Regions from separate parts of the Homo sapiens genome. Here region 2 is linked to region 1. The links are contacts of gene promoters, found by promoter capture Hi-C in human tissues and cell types (Jung and others, 2019). All regions are on one chromosome and are shown on one strand. Each heading gives the region's core, a stretch centred on a gene start or on the middle of the fragment in contact. The rest is flanking DNA. Distances are from core to core; before and after follow the strand shown. Region 1 holds the start of ABCB11 (ATP binding cassette subfamily B member 11). Region 2 overlaps ABCB11 (ATP binding cassette subfamily B member 11).

Region 1 (6,941 bases), core at 3,728-6,227:
TACTCTCTAGGGCTAAAGGCATGCACTGGTTGTTCAGTCAGAAATGGAAGCTAGTCCCTTTATCTTTGGGCAGCTTAGAAACGGCTGTGATGATTTTTGAAGGCCATTGTGCTGAAAATCTTAATTACTTGCATGTACCCACAAAAACACTGGGAATTTTATAACACTAAGTTTGGGAAAGTACACTGAAAAACCGAAATTTCTAGAAAGAATGAAGGCCTTGCCTGTGATATTTGCCACAAAAGAGGTTTTCAGAATTGAATATTAGATGAATTGCCATGTATCATTATGAATGTAGAATATATATCTGATATATATTATTAGACCATGTTTTCTTCCACTGGCAAATTATTTTTTTTATCAGATGAGATGTTGGGAAACCCATACATCAGATGCTGGAGGACATGGCTGCCAGTCTCTGAAACCCTGGAAATGCAGTGGGAATCTAGTTTTTGGTGATAAACATATTTGTTTTGCAGGTTCTTGAGAGTGTACCTCCTCCTCATTTGGCACTTTCTATGATTTAAGAGTACCATGGTGTTTTGCCACATTATTTTTCCTCACTGATTACAAGTAGATATAATGTCACCTAGTTCTACTGTCTCGGCCATTAGCTGTAACACTTTTTTAGCACCTAACCTAATAACTTGATTTGAGTTTCATACATTGAAGGAGGCTTTAATTAGGGTTTCTTAACAAATTTACAATAACAAAATTTTACTTAAACTAACACAAGAAAACTCAGAGTTGAAAATAACATCCAATGCTATTTCATTTTTACTGTGCACTTTAACATATTAAATTATTTTAACCTCCCCAAAATCTCTTCAGGAACAGACTGAGAATTTTCAAGGCATTCCAGAAAAATGTATTTTCCAATAAACTTAAGGGAATCTAAGAGTAAAAAGCAGGAAATCGAGATGTCTAAGCACTAGTTGGCAGACTTTGGACACCTAATCATAGAATCCCCCAAGAATTCTTAATTGTCCACACCAACTCCAGTGTTCCTCTCTGCTAAGTGACATGTGGTCTATAACCTGCACACTATATGCGCTTCTGTTTAACTATTCAGGGTTGAAGTTTTCTCTTGATAAAATGTGTAATCTTATCAACACAGATACGCACATTAGAGAACAGTCTCCTGACAATTACTGGTAAAAACATATCAAAGATGTTTCTATCTTACACTCTAACAACAGCATTCTGAAAGACCTCACTGCTGGGGAGGAGGGGATGGGGAAGAGAGACCATCAGCTAGATGGTCACTTGAGAGAACCTAGTACTTTGACTGACCTTAAAAATGGGCCTGAATGAGTAGTACCACAAAGGTCCTGAGGCTGTCAAAATTGGAGGAGATACAGGGTTCTACAAGCCATGCCAGAAAGAAATCAAAGATCCTGAGAGCATAAAATGTCAGTGCCCACTACTTGCCACTACAGCAAGGCTGCTAGTGTGAACTGGTGGGGATGTCAGCCTGGAGCAACAGATGGACAGGCTGATCTTCACCAATGGCTGGGATCAATACTAGCAATTGGCTATTGGTATTGTAGAAGAATTGAAGAAAAAAAAAGGGTCAGGGTTGAGAAAAGGTGTCTCCAGAGCTGAATCCTTCTGGGCTGAAAGATACCATTACCATCCTATTTTATAAATACAGTTTTATGGGAACACAGTCATACCCTTTCATTTTCTATTATCTTTGGCTGCTTCTGTGCTACAGTGACAGAATGTATGGCCCTTTCTCTCTCCCATACCTAAAATATTCACTATACAGCTCTTTGCAGAAAATGTCAATCCCTGTACTGTGAGATCAGTTCAGGGCAGCCTGAGGCCCAGGAAGAAATCTCTGAGGACCTGATTTACCTACCCTAAAAATTGTGTGGAGCACCAGCCCTCCAGCCAGCCCTACCCTCATGGAACTTACAATGTGGCAGGGAAGGCAGACATTATCTGGGAAATTAGGCGTCAAGCAGGATGGCAGTGAGGAAAGGGGAAATACAGGCATCTCCTGGGCCCTGATGCAGAGGAGCTGCCTTGTCTAGAGAGCTGGAGAAGGCTCTGGAGCAAGTGCTTAGCATGAGATGTTGAAGATGAGAGCAAGTTTTCCATGGGAAGAGGAGAGGGAAGAGCAGTCCAGGCAGGGAAGGACACATGCAAAGGCCCAGATGCAAGAGACAGGGCAGCCGGGTCCAAGGCTGAAGGAGCCCAGTGAATCTCAGGGAGGCGGATGGGCAACTCGGGAGGATGTGGCTGGTTGATCCTTCAGGGCCTCATGATCCTTACCACTGAGAACTTGGGACCTTATCCTAAAGGCCATGGGAAGCTAATGAAGTCTTTTAGGCAAGAAAGGATATGATCAAATTTATACTTAAAAAAAGTTACCCTGATAAGGCTTGGGACTTGGAGCCCACACCCACAGAGGTTAGGAAATGGGTTTGAGAAGAATAGAGATCCCACCAGACCAAGAGGCAGAGATGGCTCTGTCTGTGTTCTAGGGTTTTGCATTTTCTCTGCAGAGATTTGTTCCACTTTCCATTTAATTTCCACCCAAATGCTATTTTTTGAAACATGTTGACCTTTTCTAGACTTAATTAAGGAAAAAGAGCTTTTTCCACATTCAGGCCAAGATGGTAAGAAGAATCTAAATGTCCTCAAAGCCATTGAGGAGCTGAGGACAGTGAGGGGAACCAAGCCAGGCCCGGGAGTGGAGAGCACCCGCCCCCACCATGCCCCACATCACACTGTGAATATTCTGATCATGTGAGGGTCCCTCCACGGCTTTTCTCTTGTGAAGTCTTGCCCTCTGTAAAGACTTTCAAGACCCCAGCGCCACAAACTCCCCCTTCACAGAGCTGCTCAGAGAGAACAGAACTGCCCCTGCTCCTCTTCAATTTGGATGTCCTTTCTAAACTACAGTTTTCTTTTCTTTCTTTTTTTTTTTTTTAAAGCCCTTAAAACGTCTTTCACTGCTGACATTTAAAAATGTAGGTAGGATACTTTTGTTATTATCAGCTCAGCAAATGATTTCTTTATCTAAAAGATTATTAGAGAAGGAAAGAAACATTTAATATATGCTAAGAAACAAAGAAAATAGAAAGGCATTATTTTCCAGATAAGCTCACTGTCGGTTGATGCTGTGTGTCAACACTGTGGGTGACCCAGTCTGGGAATAGACTAAAATGAGGCCCTTCCAGCCCTGAGGGCTATGGCTGATAGGGAAGGGAAATAAATACACGGTGATCCCATTGGCCACGTAAGTCCTTTCTTCAGAGGCACCGTTGAGGTAGAGGACTAAAGAATTGCTTAGGAAGAAAACAGAATGTAACACCAAAGTTAACTGCCACAGCGATTCTTTGTCTCTAAATGTACAGTTCTTTCCTCTTTTTTTTTTTTTTTTTTTTTTTTTTTTGAGAGGAGTCTCGCTCTGTCGCCCAGGCCGGACTGCGGACTGCAGTGGCGCAATCTCGGCTCACTGCAAGCTCCGCTTCCCGGGTTCACGCCATTCTCCTGCCTCAGCCTCCCGAGTAGCTGGGACTACAGGCGCCCGCCACCGCGCCCGGCTAATTTTTTGTATTTTTAGTAGAGACGGGGTTTCACCGTGTTAGCCAGGATGGTCTCGATCTCTTGACCTCATGATCCACCCGCCTCGGCCTCCCAAAGTGCTGAGATTACAGGCGTGAGCCACCGCGCCCGGCCAGTTCTTTCCTCTTGACCAAGCAAAACACAACTCCAGTATTTGATTTCTGCAATGAAACTTGGGCATTTTATGGCAATTGTAGCATCTTTTAAAACCACAAAATGGGCATTTTCCCCCTAAATAGCTTCTTAATCCATTTTTAGGAGTCATCCCCTAATATTTGTCACCATTATTCTTGGTACTAGGAAACAAAAATTATTCAAGGGGCTTGCAATCTAGAGTGGGGTGGAGTGTAAACAGAAGCTCCTAGACAGGGAAATGGAGGCTTCAACCAGAGACAATCACAGTGTTACAGAGCACAGCAGGGGGAACCAAGGTGAGGGGGGTGAGCAGTGAGGGGACGAGGTTGCCCACAGAAAAGAACTTCTATTAAACAACAGCTCATAAATAAGTTATCACTTCAAATGTTTAATAAAAACCACTACTAACTCCTAATATTAAAAAGTTTTAGGTATAACCACTATAATTTGTCTCTAACATCTCTAAAAAGCTATTCCCCCTCAAAATGTTGACAAATACTGTCTTTTATTCCCAGTCTGAAGTGTGAATAATATTTGATCTCTGTGCTCAAGCCATTAGCAATATGTGACTCCCACTGGCTTGGGTGACCTAAAAACTGAAATTAGATCCTAGAAACAAACTTTCTCCCCTCTAAACATGCATCCACAGCTCATTTTTTTTTGCATCTATATTTTTGAAAACCGGGACAATGAAGAAATGAGTACGGTGTTGGAGAAAAGATAAAGTCGGTGTAGTTCTGCATTAAACCAGCTTTCAAGGGTAGAATTTGTGATCATTGAATCTGTGATTATCAGAGCAAACAGAATTGTGCTTTCACAAAGCCAAGTTAAAAAAGAAGCCCACTGGTATTTTTACTTTGAGCAGATTATTCAATCTATTCGGCCATTTGTACCACACACCCATGTACACCACTCTCTCTCTCTCTAAGAGATTGATACATGAAATAGCATTGCTATAAAGAAGACAGCAACCAAGAGTCATCTGTATTGTATACAATGTTGTGAAATCATTAATGCATCCTGTAAGTTTCTATCCAAGTATTGTAGCGTTGTTTACACTGGACAAGAGACCAATGTTTAATAAACCAGAAACACTCCACTCCACAAAGTAAGAGTTAAAGGGAAGAGGGAATGGATTTGCAGAGACAAGTATAAGTTACTTACCTGTGAATATGAATTTGAGGAAGCCAGAGGAAATAATGGACTCCACTGTGGAGAGTTAAAAGGTTTCACAACCTTTTCCAACCTCGGTTTTCATCATTCTAAAGCACTGAACAGAATTCAAACTTTTTCAAGAACATTATCTATTTGCCTAAGGATCAATGTCCCTAAGGGCAGCCCAAGCACAGTTCAGTGACATACGAGAAACATACTCAGAGCAATAACCCCAAACACAGAGTGTGCTTGGGAAACCCTCTGAGGGTGTCAACAGGCCTTGGAAATTGCTGATTCACCTTGGAACGAGAGGCAAATTGAGCAGAGTGGGCCCAGCAAGAGCCCTGGAATTCAGGCTATCCCAACCCTTATTTTTTACAGGCCTGTAGTTGTGAAAAGTTACTTAAAAACATAACAAGACAAAAAAAAAAAATACCTTTAAACTTTCCCCCTCAATATAAAAGATTGCTCTTGGAAAATCCCTGGTTGCAGGATCCAGATGCTCCTGGCCCAGCTATAGAGTTTTGTGGAGACAAATACCCTAAAAGAACATTTGAAACAGCCTTGCTCAAAAGTCTGAGTGCACAGACAACTCTTGCACCCTGGCATGGACACACCAGATGAAGCTCTGTATAAGCAAAGATGAACGATTTTCTAAAGGTTCAAATGAACAGGTCTTGAGTCAAATAAGCATGTGGAGCTCCTCCAATATATTTGTGCTGCCTCTTCCTCTCCCTTCTTGTGAATCTTTCCATTTTTCCTACAATGTTCTTATTTTTTCTCCTTTGCCTGAGCTTACTTTTCCCTAAATGCCTCTCACTCCAGCCTTCAGCAATGAATAATAATAGGCAACATTGGTCAAGACTTGGTTGGGTGCCTGGCCCACTTCAAAAATGTTATTTGTATCACCTCATTTGGGCCTCTCAACAGCCCTAGGAGTTGGGTGCTATCATGTCATTTCTATTTTATAGTTGGGGAAACTGAAGCACAGAGAGGTTAAATAATCCTCCTAAGGTGTAACAACTAGTAGATGTGAAGCCACATGCCAGTCTGTGCTAACCTTCTTCCACTCTGTGCTCTGAAATGCAATTGATGGGCCAGTGCTTCTTAATTTGCAGAAATTAAACTGTAAGATCAAATTTTCTCAATTTTAGGTTTCTCTGTCATAAATTTTTTATTAAAATTCAGCATCCACCATTTTTTCTCTATTGGAATTTATGTATAAGATGGTTTATGACTTAGCCCATAAAACCCAAAATTATAACATATAATTTTATATGTTATTATATGTTCAAATCTCAAATATATCAAGGTCAGCAAAGAAAAGCAAGATTTCTAGATGTTTCCTCTATGCAAACTGAATGGGTTGACTTCTGAGTTGACGCAAATGTAGTAATATTGGATTTGGCACCAATTAGGACCCAGGAAAAAAATTTTGCTTCACACAAAACCAAAAAGGCAACACAGCTATGGGGCTGTAGCTTTGATTGGGAAAAGATTCCCAATAGAATTTTGCTACCTTTGCTGTGCTGAAGTTATTGACAGCAGTCAAAGGGTAAAAATGCCAAGAGAAATTTGTCAACTCAGGACTATAGCTGATCTGCTCACAGGTCCAAGGGTCCTAAGACTTTCCTTCTGGTGCCATGAAGATCCAAGGGAAGATAAAAGCATAGAGTTTTAGAGCTAGAAACAACATTGTAAATATTGATATATCATCCAACAACTTCATCTTATAGATGAGAAAAGTGAAGACAGAGTGGCCATCTGTCCAGGGCCCTGGAGAGTTCAGGGTGTCTTCCTCTGCACCCTCATGCTGGCCAGACACATCTGGGCAGTGTGAGTACTGAGTTGATCGTGCTTAATTCACTTCAGCTATAAGCTTGTCTTCTTTATGGTTCACGGTCTGAAAATAGGTAGGGTTGTGGTCCCTACAGTCACCCAATTAAAATACCGGCTCTTTTTGAATGTTTATGTGCCAAACACTGTTCTCAGTTCTGGGATTCAGGAATGAATAAGACAGACGAGAATCTCTGCCTCAGGAATCTTACATTCTGGGGGCAGGGAGGGGGCAG
Region 2 (6,664 bases), core at 3,585-6,084, 41 kb before region 1:
ATCAGGGAAATACAAATCAAAACCACAATGTGATACCACCTTAATCTTGCAAGAATGGCTATAATAAAAAAATCAAAACATAATAGATGTTGGCATGGATGTAGTGAAAAGGAACACTTCTACACTGTTGGTGGGAATGTAAACTAGTACAACAACTATGGAAAACAGTATGGAAATTCCTTAAAGAACTGAACATAGAACTACCATTTGATCCAGCAATCCCACTACTGGGTATCTACCCAGAGGAAAAGAAGTCGTTATACAAAAGAGATACTTGCACACGCATGTTTATAGCAGCACAATTTACAATTGCAAAACTGTGGAACTAGCCCAAATGCCCATCAATCAACAAGTGGATAAAGAAACTGTGATATATATATAACATATATGTATATATATACACAGATACATATAATTACATATATATATGGCAGAATACTACTCAGCAATAAAAGGAATGAATTAATGGCATTCACAGCAACCTGGATGGGATTGGAGACTGTTATTCTAAGTAAAGTAACTCAGGAATGGAAAACCAAATATTGCATGTTCTCACTCATAAGTGGGAGCTAAGCTATGAGGATGCAAAGGCATAAGAATGATACAATGGACTTTGGGGACTCAGCGGAAAAGGGTACGAAGGCAGTGAAGGATAAAAGACCAGAGCTTGGATTCAGTGTATACTGCTTGGGTGATGGGTGCACCAAAATCTCACAAATCACCACTAAAGGACTTACTCATGTAACTAAATACCACCTGTTTCCCAAAAAAATTATGGAAATAAAAAAAAATTTAAGGTATTACTTGTTTCCACAGACAGACTCCATAAAATCATTGATGCTTTTTTCCTGAAGGCACCAAAGTAATAAACAAAATATCTAATCCATGGACTTTTCTGAGATACCAGAAGGAAATGCTATGTCTCGGTCAATAAGTCCAAGGTACCTGGACAAGGGTTCCTGGTGTATATTCTCCTTCATCCAGGACAAGTGTGGAGCCGTACCAGAAGGCCAGTGCATAACACAAAAAGATGAGACACCACACGAATCCAGTAAAGAATCCCATCACTATTCCTTTTCTAATTCCCCAACGCTGGGCGAACACAAGATTTTTCTCATACCTGTGAAGACAAAATGCTTGAGTCAATTTCGGCAGAAACAGCTCAAGTTATAATGTTTAAAACAGGCCGTGATGCAGTGGTTTTACAAAATGATCATAAAATCATCGCAAACACAGAGCAGCTTCAGGGAGAAAAATCTCCAATAACCTTTATGTAGTTTTTTAAAGTTTGTTTTAACCTGACAATGAAACATGTTGAAAGGGCGATACTTAACAGAGCTGCCTGATTGCTGCTTGGATTGCATAGTGAGGTAAGCTTGGCCCCAAGAGAAAAGAATTTTCAACATAAATATATGAACAAGAGAGATCTAGTATTATGTTTGAAGTGTTTCCTTGAGTCACATGACATGTCCTTATCAGAAAATAATGCAACTGGCTCCAAATAAGCAGACCAGACTTTTTGTTTCCAGCTCCCCAGGCTTGGAACTAGTGTTTGCACCAACTCATCTATAACTCACCCATCTGCCCTGTGGCTGAGACGCTGTGTTGTGACACACTGGTCAGGTTCACAGCCATGAGACATGGATAACTGAAACTATGTGGAAGTCCAATGCAAGGAATAGGTTTCAGTAATTCCATGATCTAGCCATTAACAATGGGCTTTGTCTCATATATAGCTCAGGCATTCTGAAACTGCCTTCCTACATCTCAGGAATTGAATTCATGGAGAACTTTTAACCTTTTGCAGGACACAAACTGAAGGTCTATCCTATGTTTGTTACCATTTTTAAAACACTACACTGTCTCTTTTATTGACAATAAAAGATAATGTCTTTCATGGTGGAAGAAATATGCTACTGAAATTTTTTACAAGAAATAAGGAACCTCACTCCACAAACCAAAAGAAGTGGGGAAAAGACGATAATAAGAGGTTGTAAATCCTATTCTCTTTTTTACTTGATGGATTTGGTAGCAACTGAGAATAACACCATCTTACCAAATCTACAACACATAAAGTAAGAGTTGCTATTCAGTTGGTAGCTATTTTATAAAAATCAAAGCATGGCACGTAGTAAGTACTCAATAAATACCAGATAAATTAAAGAATAAACAAAATTACATTTTGGACAACTGTATTATTTTGGCCATTTGGGTTTTTCTTTTCACTGGGAGTTAATCTCTAGAATAATGCTCTATAACTTTTCAACACTAATTTGTTTTTTGAGACAGGGTCTCACTCCATCATTCAGGCTGGAGTGCAGTAGCATGATCACAGCTCGCTGTAACCTCAAACTCCCCAGAATCAGGTGATCCTCCCACCTCAGCCTCCCAAGTAGCTGGGACTACAGGTGTACACCACCATGTCTGGTTAATTTCTGTATTTTTTTGTAGAGATGAGGTTTTGCCATGTTGCCCAGGCTGGTCTCAAACTCCTGGCCTCAAGCAATCCACCTGCCTTGGCCTTCCAAAGTGCTGGGATTACAGGTGTGAGCCACTGTGCCCAGCCTGTTTGACCAAATAGAAATCTTATCAGACTTTATAAAGAACATGTAGCACAGTACCTGAATAAAGTGTGTTTAATTAAAAAGGTGTTCAATAAAAATGTGTGAAATAGCATTTTGAATCATGCTGGCATTTCTTTATTATTTTTTAATTGACAAAACTTACATATATTTATGGTATACAACATGATGGTTTGAAGTATGTATAAATTGTGGAATGGCTAAATCAAGATAATTAACATGCATTACCTCACATACTTATATTGTGTGTGTGTGTGTGATGAGAACACTTAAAAATCTATTCTTAGCAATTTTCAAGTATGCAATGTGATGTTATTAACCATAGTCACCATGTTAACAACACATTTCTTGACTTTATAAACTGCCTCTTAAATGTGAATAAGGAAGGGTTTCTTTTAGATCACCATGAACTAAATTAAAACAACTACAATTAGATAATTAATGTCATTATTTTTAAAATATCTCAAACTACCCCTGTTTAACTGAAATTTTGAATCCTTTGACCAACGTCTCCCCAGTTCTCGCCTGCCCCCTCCCACCTCAAAGTCCCTGGTAACCACTGTTCTGCTCTCTGCTTCTGTGAGTTCAACTCTGTCAGTGAGATCATGGGGTATTTTTCTGTGCCTGGCTTATTTCACTTAACATAATGTCCTCCAGGTTCATCGTGTTGCTGCAAATAACAGTATTTTCTTCTTTTTAAAGGCTGAATAGTATTCTATTGAATATGGCATGTAAATTTACACACACATTTTCTTCATTCACTTGTCTGTTAATGGGTGCTTAGGTTGATTCCATACCTTGGCTATTGTGAATAATGTTGCAGTGAATGTAAGAGTACAGTTTTCTCTTGACATAGTGATTTCATTTCCTTTGGATATATACCCAGTAGTGGGGATGCTGGATCATATGGTAGTTCTGTTTTCCATTTTTTGATGAATCTCCATACTCTTTGGCTGTACTGATTTACTTTCCCACCAAAAGCGATCCGTGTAACAGTGTTTCATTTTCCCCATATGCTTGCCAACACTTGATATCTTTCTTCTTTTTATAATGGCCATTCTTACAGGTATAAGATGATATCTCATTGTGGTTTTGACTTGTGTTTCCTTGATGATTAGTGATGTGTGACATCTTTTCACATGCCTGTTGTATGTTTCTTTTTGTACGTTTCTATTTGTATGTTTTCTTCTGAGAAATGTCTATTCAGGTCTTTTGACCACTTTTTAATCAGGTTGTTTTCTTGTCATTGAGTTGTTTGTGTTTCTTATATGTATTGGATATTAACCCCTTATCAGATGTATGGGTTACAAATATTTTCTCTCATTCTATAAATTGCCTCTTCACTCTGTTGATTGCTTCCTTTTTGAAGCTTTTTAGTTTGATGTAATCCCATCTGTCTATTTTTGCTTTTGTTACCTGTCCTTTTGGGGTTGTGTCAAAAAAATCATTGCCTAGACCAATGTCATAGAGCTTCTTCCCTATGCTTTCTTCTAGTAGTTTTTCAGTTTTATATCCTACATTTAAAACTTTAATCCATTTTGAGTTGATATTTGTGTATAGTGTGAGGTAAGGATCAAATTTCATTCTTCTGCATGTGGATATCCAGTTTCCCCAACATCGTTTATTGAAGAGACTGCCCTTTCCTCATGGTGTGTTGTTGGTCTCTTTATTGAAAATCAATGGACTATAAATGCATGGACTTCTTTCTGGGCTCTCCATTCTTTTTCACTGGTCTATGTGTCTGTTTCTATGCCAGTACCATGCTGTTTTTATTACTATAGTAATCAAATAATCTAATAATGATCTATTACTTTGTAGTAGATTTTGAGATCAGGTAACGTGATGCCTCCAGCTTTGTTCTTCTTGTTCAGGATTTTTGCTATTCAAGGTCTTTTGTGGTTGCTAAGAAGTGGCAAGAATGGGCATTTTTGTCTTGTTCCTGATCTTAGGGGGAAAAGCTTTCAAATTCTCACCCTTGAGTATGATTTAGCTGTGGGCTTGTCATATGTTACCTTTATTGTATTGAGGTACATTCTTTTTATACCTAATTTGTTGAGAGTTTCTGTCAGGAAAGGATATTGAATTTTGTTAAATGCTTTTTCAGCATCTATTGAGATAACCATATGGTTTTTGTCTTTCATTCTGTTAATGTGGTATATTACATTTATTGACATGCCTATGTTGAACCATCCTTACATCCTAGGGATAAATCTCACTTGATCATGGTGAATGATTCTTTTAATGTGCTATTCAATTTGGTTTACTAGTATTTTTGTTGAGCATTTTCACGTCCATGTTTATCATGGATATTGGCCTTTGATTTTCTTGTAGTATCCTTTTCTGGCTTTGGTATCAAGGTAATATTGGCCTTGTAAAATGAGTGTGAAGTATTCCCTCCGCTTTAATTTTGTGGAAGAATTTGAGGAGGACTGGTACTAGTTTTTCTTTAAATGTCTGGTAAAATTCAGCAATGAAGCTATCAGGTCCTGGGCTTTTCTTTCATGGGAGACTTTTTATTACTGATTCAATCTCCTTACTCATTATTGGTATGTTCAGATTTATTTCTCTTTATTTCTCCGTGATTCAACCTTGGCAGGTTGTATTTTTATAGGAATTTATCCATTTCTTCTAGGTCATCCAATTTGTTGGCGTTTGTTTTTAGTAATCTCTTATGATCTTCTGTATTTCTGTGGTATCAGTTGTAATGTCTCATGTAGGCTTTTCTTTAATGACAGCAAACAGCATTATAGACTGATATGAGGTATAATATTTATACATACATACCATCAGAGTTTGAAATAAATATCTACCCTGAGCTGGCTTTCTAAAAATTGCCAACTGCAACATCTTTAAAAACATACTGCTAAAGGCTTGGGACTTCTTATAGTACCTAAATTACCAACCTAAATTACTCTGCTTAGCTCCCTCTTGAACAAGTACTTCCTCTGGAGGCCACAGACCAAGGTGGGTCTGCCGCTTTGCACAAACTGAGAGACTCAGGGTACTATGCTGATTGATGAAATTAAGGAAAGAATCAGATTCCAATTAACCAACCTTTCAACCTCTCTTTTCTCACCACCAAAAGCAGCCACTGTTCTCATTGATGAAATGACTTCATCAGCCACCACCCCTGCTTTGGCATAGGCCTTCAGCTCATAGTCCGTAAACTTGGACACACTCTAAAAATCAAAAAGAAGAAAAGAAAATGTGAAGTCCAAGAAATTAGGTAAGTCAGTCTGTCATTCAGATTCATTTAACATGTGGCATGGGTTTAATACAATATTAGATTCTCACTGTAACATCATTGACAGGAGGAAGAAATCTGGTCCAAATTTGGTCTATGGTAAGCTTCATCCAGGGTTGTCTGGTTGTTGATATATCAAAATGACCCTACTAAAAGTAAGAACCTCCTCAAAGAATAAATTCCAAATAGGACATTCTGTAAGACTAAAGTGTTTCAGTCATTATACTAATAAAGTGTTAAGTTAGACCATGTCATAGTTCATTGCTATTAGCCAATGGCCATTGCATAATTTATAGACAAACGCCAGAGACACATGCAGATATCATGATTGGGTATAATATATGACATATAACATATAAAGTATAGGCATGATGTTGAAAGACGATTTCAGATGATTCCAGAAAAGAAAGTCCATTTTCACTCAGTTGGAGACGCTCAACTATGTAGTTTTGATTTTTACAAAAGGAAATGAAAAGACATCTGTACTTAACAGTAGACACATTACTTTTTCTAAAACTGACTTGGATTGAGTCCTAGTCAAAATGAACCCCCAAAGAAAACCCTGGCACAGATTAATAAATAAGAAGAGGAAAAAACACATATTGCGGAAGATCAACTAGCTCAGAAATATAAAAATATATATAATACCCAGATTAAGGGAGTTTATCTTCCAGTAGTTTTTCCAAACTTTTAGCAGCAAAACTCTTATCAAAATCTTAGATGGAATTCTAAGATGTAAATTAAGTAAGTATTCATAGTAGTTTTTAAAAACAATATATTAATTTCATCAGTGTACATTTTATAAAACATGTGAATTAAACATGTAACAGTAAGGAAA

The links. Contacts are between HindIII fragments. The study calls those that stand out against the background at their distance.
Region 2: a fragment that was not itself captured here is called in contact with the fragment with the promoter of ABCB11 in region 1 in 4 of the 25 tissues and cell types used here (IMR-90 fibroblasts, bladder, hippocampus and 1 more).

Annotation. Positions count from the first base shown.
Region 1 is chr2:169,026,347-169,033,287 of GRCh38, forward strand. It overlaps ABCB11 (ATP binding cassette subfamily B member 11), which reads right to left and starts at 4,978. Exons shown (of 28, transcript NM_003742.4): 1 at 4,879-4,978. The HindIII fragment of the contact is 8,591 bases long and covers 1-6,941 here.
Region 2 is chr2:168,985,165-168,991,828 of GRCh38, forward strand. It overlaps ABCB11 (ATP binding cassette subfamily B member 11), which reads right to left. Exons shown (of 28, transcript NM_003742.4): 9 at 5,637-5,761; 10 at 946-1,120. Among named protein-coding and RNA genes, the nearest start is that of ABCB11, 43 kb to the right of the region's middle. The HindIII fragment of the contact is 4,342 bases long and covers 2,664-6,664 here.